2 separate regions of the Homo sapiens genome follow, and region 2 is linked to region 1. The links are contacts of gene promoters, found by promoter capture Hi-C in human tissues and cell types (Jung and others, 2019). All regions are on one chromosome and are shown on one strand. The core of a region is centred on a gene start or on the middle of the fragment in contact, and the rest is flanking DNA. Distances in the headings are between cores, read along the strand shown.

Region 1 (3,856 bases), core at 886-3,385:
CAAAGGTGGAAGGTGCTGACCAGTAACTGCTTGGAAGCAACCACCGTGTTTCAATAGGATCTCAGTTGCAATCCACTGCTTGTGTGAAGGAGGGCTGCTGATTCAGCAGCAAAATGGTTGGAAATAAAATGGAAGAAATGAAAAGTAGAACATACGAGTGGTGGCAATGTTTATTTCAACAGGCAGAGGGCTGGGTGTCTCCATGCAGGAATCCATGACCCTCCCTGGGGGGCTGGCTTCCAATAACATTACTTCCCACTTCCCGAGCGCTTACTGAGTGCTGGGCGCCTAGCTTTTGAATTCCCACGGTAACCCTATGGGAACTCTGCCATCTCCATTTTACAGATGAGAAAACTGAGCTCAGGGACATTAGGTGACTGCCCAAAGCCATACTGCTGGTGGGCCCCGGAGCCAAGGTTTCGACCCGAATCTCTTGAGGACAAGGTGCAGTTCCTTTGGCCCACACATTTACAACAGAGAAATTTCCATGGACATGAAACAGCCCAGAGATATTATTTCATACCCATTTAGATGAACAAAGTAAAATAAATGGAAAGAAAATCAGAAGTTTGAGGACACCAGTGCTGGCCAGGAAATAGAGAACCACAAACCCAGGCACACTGAAGGGTGAGAGGTCAGTTGCTCCAGGTGTTTGGAAAGCAATTTGGCAGCTTCCAATAAAGTCCAAGACGTAGCTGGTCCAATGATGCCACCGCAGACATTTAGAGAACTTCTGTAGAGGGGCACAGGGAGACAGCGCTAGAAAGCTCAATGAATCACTGTAACTGCACAAAACAAAACAAAGCCGACCGCCCTAAATGTTCCTCATTGACAGTGGGTGTATGAGGAGGTGACTGTCCTCCTGGCTGCTGGTACTCTGGGGAGGGAGCTTTGGTGCCCAAGGCAAGAGACTGAGGTTGAACTCTGGGACTCCCAGGAGGGGCTGATTTTTCTGAGAGCCCCGTGAGCCAAGAGTGGGGACCATCCTGATTCTCTCGGACAGGGGAAGATCTGAGCAGGGCTCCTGGCTGATTGGAGGCTCCGAATCGCACCTCTTCTCCTGTCCTAATCTCAGGCTCCAGGCCTGGCTTGCAGTTTCTGGCTCACCGCGCTGCGGTCACCGGCCCACACTCCCAGGAGCGAGGACCCTGGGCAGCCTCCACACCCCCATCAGCCCACTGCACCGGTCTGCTGCCATTTCCCGCACGCATTTCAGGAGGGCTGGGGACGCCGGCTTCTGCCTGAGGATTTATGGTCCAGGAAATGCATTTTAAATGGATCCCAGGATGCTCGGATCCAAGAATCAGACTCTCTCTTGTGCGTGGGAAGAGGGGCGGAGGGTGAGAGTATGTCTGGAGAGAGACCTAGAAACGCCCGAATGGCGGTCCCACTTTGCTCCCCAAAAGCGCGACCGTTCCCCGAGTGGGGGGGCGCTACCTGTTGGCCAGGGCGCAGGGCGCACGGAATTCGGGTGACTTTGCTCCAAGATACACGCGTGTGTCCCGACTCTCACTCAATTTATAGGGGAGAGGGACTCGCCAAATCCCTGTTTTCTGGGGTAAGCCCCCCTCCCCCCACTCTTGGACCCAAGCTGCCCGGAAGGAAGAAGGAAGCATTGTTTGTCACCGGAGAAAACCACCTGTGGTTTGCAAAGGGCCTCAGTCGAGTCAGGGGCAGGCGGGGCAGATCCGAGCCCGGCGGGAGGGGCGAGGCGCGGGGGCGGGCAGGGGCGAGGGTAGGGGCGCTCAGCTGGCAGGTCCTGCTCTGCAGGCCTCACCGCCCAGCTCCCGGGAGGGGGCCGAGGGCGCCCTGAGTGCTGCGCGCCTTCCCATGACGCAGTTCCTGTGCCTTTAAATCCCACTCCCGGAGGGGGCGGGGGCGCCCCGGCTGGACCCCGGTTTCCAGTCCGGCGGGGGCCCCGGGGAAGCCCAGGGCGGGGAGCGCGGGGCTGGGGGCGCGGAGGGCGGGGCGCCCGGGGTCCCCGCCCGCGCGCCGCGCCCTAGCCTGCTGGGCCGCGCCCCTCTTGGGACCGCCGCGCTCCGGGGGCGGGGGCGGGGGCGGGGGCGGGGGGCGGGGGGCGGGGGGCGGGCGGGGGCGCGCGGGCGGGCGGGGTGCGGGCGCGCGCCGCGCGGCCCGAGCGCGCGAGCCGGGCCCGGAGCGCACGCCGCCGCCGCCACCGCCGCCGCCGCCGCCCGAGCCGCCGCATTGCTGCTGCTGCTGCCGCCGCCGCCCCGCGCCCGGCCCGCGGCCCCCAATATGGTGCAGCCGCCAGCGCCGCCGCCCGTGCCGCCGCCGCCGCCCGCGGGCCCCGCCGCCGCCCTCGGGCGCCCGCAGCGCGGCAGCCGCAGGTGGGGGGCCGCGGCCCGGGCCTGAGCTGCCCCCCGCCCGGCCTCGGCGCGGCGCCCTCCCCGCGGGGCTGCCGGCGAGGGGCCCTCTCGCCGCTGAGGTGGAGCCGCGGGCCCCGCCGCCGCCGCTCCTGCCCCCTCCCTCCCTCCTCCCCTCCCCCTCCCCTCCGGTCCTGTCTCCAGCGGGAGCGCGAGACGCTGGTCAGGCTCCGCGGCGCAGCTCGAAAAGGAATAATCGCCCCCGATTGACTGAAATTCCTCCGGAGCCGGCGCCGCGGCCGCCCGCGCCCGAGACCGCGCTCCGGGGCCGCGTCCTCCTCTCCTCCGGAAAACGCTCGCGACCCAGGGCCGCCGGCGGCCGCGACTCTGCTGTGTCGATCGCCTGAGTCCGTTTTCACCGTTTGCGGGATCTGGAACCGAGTTACATGCATGTCCAGTGGGGGCAGGTTTAATTTTGACGACGGAGGGTCCTACTGTGGAGGCTGGGAGGACGGCAAGGCGCACGGCCATGGCGTCTGCACCGGCCCCAAGGGCCAAGGCGAATACACCGGCTCGTGGAGCCACGGCTTCGAGGTGCTGGGCGTCTACACCTGGCCCAGCGGCAACACGTACCAGGGCACCTGGGCGCAGGGCAAGCGCCACGGCATCGGCCTGGAGAGCAAGGGGAAGTGGGTGTACAAGGGCGAGTGGACGCACGGATTCAAGGGGCGCTACGGGGTGCGGGAGTGCGCGGGCAACGGGGCCAAATACGAAGGGACCTGGAGCAACGGGCTGCAGGACGGCTACGGGACCGAGACCTACTCGGACGGAGGTAGGTGCCGCGGGCCGGGCCGGGCCGGGGCGGGAGGGACGTGCTTCCGATCGCGCCCCTTCTGTGGATCTCTGGGGAAGTTGAGCTGCGTCCTCCGGTTGGGCCGTGGGCACCAGGGGCCTTTCCCGGGCTTCCCTGGAAGCCACGGCGGCTCCTGGCTACAGGTTGCCCCGCTGCCTGGTGGGGACAGTGCCCCTGTGCCAGCTGAAGGGTGTTGGGGGCTTTCCAGGGGCAGAGCCAGGCGGGGCCCAGCAGAGCCTCCGTGCGTCGGACACAGCAGGCCGGAGACCTGCGGGAAGGGCCAGGCTGGGCCCGCGGCCCTGGGGAACCCAGCAAGGGCAGAGGGGGCTGGGAGAAGGGCCCCTCCCCTTGTTGGCTTTGCCCCCCACCCTGGAGGCCGCCCTTCGATCAGGCCCCAGCTTCGCTTCTGGTGTTCCTGCGGCGCCCGAGGGCCTTCCTCAGCCCCGAATCTGCCCAAGCCGAGAGAAAGGGAGTGATGGGGAGCGCTAGGGGCGGGGGATGCCAACCCGAACCAAAACAGCCAGGCAGTACACTTCTAGGTGGTTGGACGCGGACTAGCGCTGTCGAAGCAGGCTGCTGGAGGGAGGAGGGAGGCCCATCTGCTCAGTGAGAGCCCAGGAATCTCGTCTTTCAGTGGCTGCATCGTTTTCACCATTAGTTGAGGGAATCGATCTGTGCC
Region 2 (3,856 bases), core at 967-3,466, 130 kb before region 1:
ATAATATTGCTCATTAAGAGATATCTTAAGGAAAAATTACATAAATTCAGGAGAGTATGTGTCATCACATTGTGTTGTGCATGTTCATTCAGCTGTTTTAGAATATGTTCTTATATTACAATAAATGATACCCTTAATTACATAGTCAAAAAAAAAAAAAGTGGTCCTCCACTTCAGCCTCCAGAGAAGCTGGGACTACAGGAGGCGCATGCCACCATGCCAGGCTTAACCTACAAACAGTTCCTTATCATCTACTGCCTCAGGTTCAAACCCCTTCCCCCGTTTTTTAGCACACTGTTAGATGTTTTTCCTAACTTAACTTATAAAGTCTTATTATTCCCTAACCTAGTGGTTCTCAACTGGGGGAAATTTTGTCCCCAGGGGACATCTGGCCACAGCTGAAAACATTTTCTGTGAACTGGGGTGGGGATTCTCGTGGCATGCAGCCAACGGAGACCAGCGATGCTGTTAAACATCCTGCAGAGCCCAGGACAGCTCCAGAGCAAGGAAGTACCTGCCCGCAGGCCTCAGGAGTGCCAAGGCTGAGAGGCCCTCCCTGATACAGTTTATTTTCCCTAATATTGAGTACTGCGTCTGCATGTGGAATACCTGGGAGCTGGCAAACGACGCAGGCTGAGAAAGCCAGGTCTAGACATCTTTAAAAAGAATACGGTCAGTTTAAAAAGCCAGGTGCCAATGGAATGCCTACGATGTCAAGACACATTGTGAGAGACCATGGAGAATAAAAGAACAAAAAGTACTAGCATTTTTGTCTGTTTTTTTGGAGACATGGTCTATGTTGCCCAGGCTGGTCTCAAATTGCCAGGCTCAAGTCATCCTCCTGCCTCAGCCTCCCGAGTAGCTGGGACCACAGGCATGAGACAATGCACCCGGCTATAACCACCTTTTGTACAGTTCTTCCCAAGTATCCATTATGCAGCCATATGAGATCATCCATCTGATCCCTGCAGTACGTGACGTACACAGATCAAATTATCTCCATGTTAAAAACAAGAAAAACTGAATGTCAGTTCCTAAATGCCTTCCCCAAGGTCATCTGGCCAGTAGGGAGCAGAATCAAGTGCAGACTTTAGGTCCTGTAACTACAGAGGTCTGTGATTTGTGCACATTAAATCCAAGGAGGCGAGCGGAGCACAGCGGTCAGGAGCCGTCTCGGCGGCCAGTGCTGGGTCCACACAGGGCAGCCCCTGTTTCGTCCACTATGGGATGGAAATAATGGCACCTACCTAAGGCTTTTGTGAGAATTCAGTAAAATGCATTTCTAGTACTGTGAACTGGAAAAATGTTAGCATTCAAAATGTTAGTTGCTGTTATTATTGTGGTGCTTGCGGTGTGGCTGGAGGACAATTAAATTGCTTCAGTGCTGTCACAGAGACTCGGAGCTCTGGGAGGATCCAGGAGGGGCACCGGCAACTGGGCCTCCCGGAAGGCAGGGCTCCCTGTGTCTACAGCATCTGCTGCACCCCTGTGGGCAGCACACCCCCAGAAGCACTGGGGATGAGGACAGAGCCACCCACAGCCACCCCAGCTCCGTGTTCCCTGCACTGGGGGCCAGGGCCTATCTTCTCAAGTAGAGACTTTACCACGACATGTGATCGTCTGTTCTAAAACCAGTGCACTTGCCAGGCACAGTGGCTCACGCCTGCAATCCCAGCACTTTGGGGGGCTGAGGCAGGAGGATCGCTTGAGCCCAGTAGTTCAAAACCAGCCTGGGGCCAGGAGCAGTGGTTCACACCTGTAATCCCAGCACTTTGGGAGGCTTAGACAGGTGGAACTCCTGAGGTCAGGAGTTCAAGACCAGCCTGGGCAACATAGTGAGACTACATCTCTACCACAATTTAGAAATTACCCGAGTGTGGTGGTGTGTGCCTGTACCTAGCTGCTCAGGAGGCTGAGGTGGGGGGATCGCTTGAACCTGGGAAGTTGAGGCTGCAATGAGCTATGATTGCATCACCGCACTCCAACCTGGGAGACAGCACGACACCCCAACTCAAATAAATAAATAAATAAATAAATAATGAAAACAAGCACATGACAGCTTGAATAATTATTTAATTACTTGGACTACAGTTAAAATGTTCTCAGGAGTCAAATGCTCATAAAGCTGCAGGGGGTGGCCTCGTCCTCAGCTGAGTGTAACCTGGGGCCACTGTCTGGACAGCAAGGAGGCAGGATGTGATGAGCTTTTTTCCCATCTGTAGCTTTTCACCCACTAATCCCACTGGGAGGAGTCTGCTGTTAGGATACAGTCAATCAGCGATGTAGTCAAAGGTTTGTGTGTAAGGAGATTTATCTCAGCTTGAGCAAAAAGAAAAACAAACAACATAAACATCCCAGCAACAGATTACTATTGAAATAGGTCGCTAAATGTGTATGTCCAGATGACTGAATATTATGCAGTCTTAAAAGGCATGCAGGATGCTCACAGATAATGTGAAAATGGGCAGAACGTACATCAGTTGTGTGCAAACAGGCACTGAGAAAAGACAAAGGTACACCGAAATATTACTAGCATTTATCTCTGGGTAATTTTTATTTTATTTTTCTGTTTTCCAATTTTTCTGTGAGGAACAATCACTACTTCTAGAATTTAAAAAAGTTACAGATATTAAGTCTAAATATAAATACCTCCCTACAAGATGTGAATGATATGAAAAGTATAGAAAAAGCAAGCTTCTAAAACCATAACCACACTTTCCTTCCACACATATCTCGAGGGCCGGGCACATCAGGGGTTAACATGAACTTCAAAGTGTCTACCCCCACAAACAAAATACAGTAAACATGACTATGAAAAAATAGTGTTTTCAATTTGTTTTCCAATTAACCTACCTCTATACAGGAAGGAGTAACGTCTGTTAAATACTTTTAAGTTAACGTAAAAAACATAAAACATAAAAACAAAATAGATTTGTAAGCATTTTGCTAAAATAGTCATTACGTGTCTCTAAAAACCAGAACAAGAAGACAGACAGTTTAAGAGTGAAAGCTATTTGCTGACTTAGACCAAGTGAAAGCCAACGCTAACCAAAAAAACATTTTCCATGTAAAAACATTCCTTTTAATATTTCTTAACCTAGAGCTCTACTCATCAAAAAGAGAAAGAGAGAAAAAAGATTACTGCTTAAAATCTCAGCAAAGGGAACCCAGTACTTAACTAGACCAGCTCCCAGAGTGACCAGATGCAAATCTCTTTCACAAATAGCCACAGGGCAGCACGGCCTCCTCTAGGAACACCGGCCCCAACTGCCCACCCGCGGGGGCTTCCAGGCCTCCAGGTGCCAAGACATCCCACCAGGGGCCAACCACATGGGACCTCTGGGGTAGGGCTTCCCTACAGTCAGCCTCCAACACACCCAGAATCCCTGTTCCAGACACTGCCTGTAGAAACAGAGGGAGTCTAAAGTCGAGAGCCCTAGGGAGGCTAAAGACATACTTCCTAGTCCTGTAATCCCATAAAACAGGGTTCAAAGGGCATCTTAACGGATGTATTGACTTCAGAGAGAACACCAGCATCTTGCTTGTACTCATGAGCAACAACTCATTTCTGCCTTCCTAGCCCCTCCTTGCCCTCCTGTCCAGCAGCGACCTACTCACCACTAGGGTCGGAGGCCGGCAATGGCGCTGACCTTCACTGCTGACCGGGCTCTGACCACTGCTGTCTTCCAGTGCTTCTGAGCAACTACTACCCTCCACTAAAAAAAACAACTTTATGCAACAGGAGAGAAAATGCTTGCACAGACAAGTGCAAGTGTCAATAAAACTGGGCTGGGGGTAGGGGTGGAACTGAAGTAGGAGGAGTAAACATAATAGTGAAAGTGTCAACCTCCTGTAG

Evidence for each region. The method cuts DNA at HindIII sites, captures the fragments that hold promoters and counts their contacts. A contact is called where the count stands out against the background at its distance.
Region 2: a fragment that was not itself captured here is called in contact with the fragment with the promoter of JPH3 in region 1 in 2 of the 25 tissues and cell types used here (H1 embryonic stem cells and IMR-90 fibroblasts).

Annotation. Positions count from the first base shown.
Region 1 is chr16:87,600,373-87,604,228 of GRCh38, forward strand. JPH3 (junctophilin 3) reads left to right here and starts at 2,136. Exons shown (of 5, transcript NM_020655.4): 1 at 2,136-3,156. The coding sequence starts at 2,775. It overlaps LOC124903750 (a long non-coding RNA gene), which reads right to left and starts at 1,811. Exons shown (of 2, transcript XR_007065172.1): 1 at 1,640-1,811; 2 at 153-733. RefSeq lists an enhancer at 675-1,237. The HindIII fragment of the contact is 15,663 bases long and covers 1-3,856 here.
Region 2 is chr16:87,468,317-87,472,172 of GRCh38, forward strand. The region is part of intron 1 of ZCCHC14 (zinc finger CCHC-type containing 14); the gene reads right to left. Among named protein-coding and RNA genes, the nearest start is that of ZCCHC14, 23 kb to the right of the region's middle. RefSeq lists enhancers at 930-1,515, 1,516-2,100, 2,786-3,743. The HindIII fragment of the contact is 5,698 bases long and covers 1-3,856 here.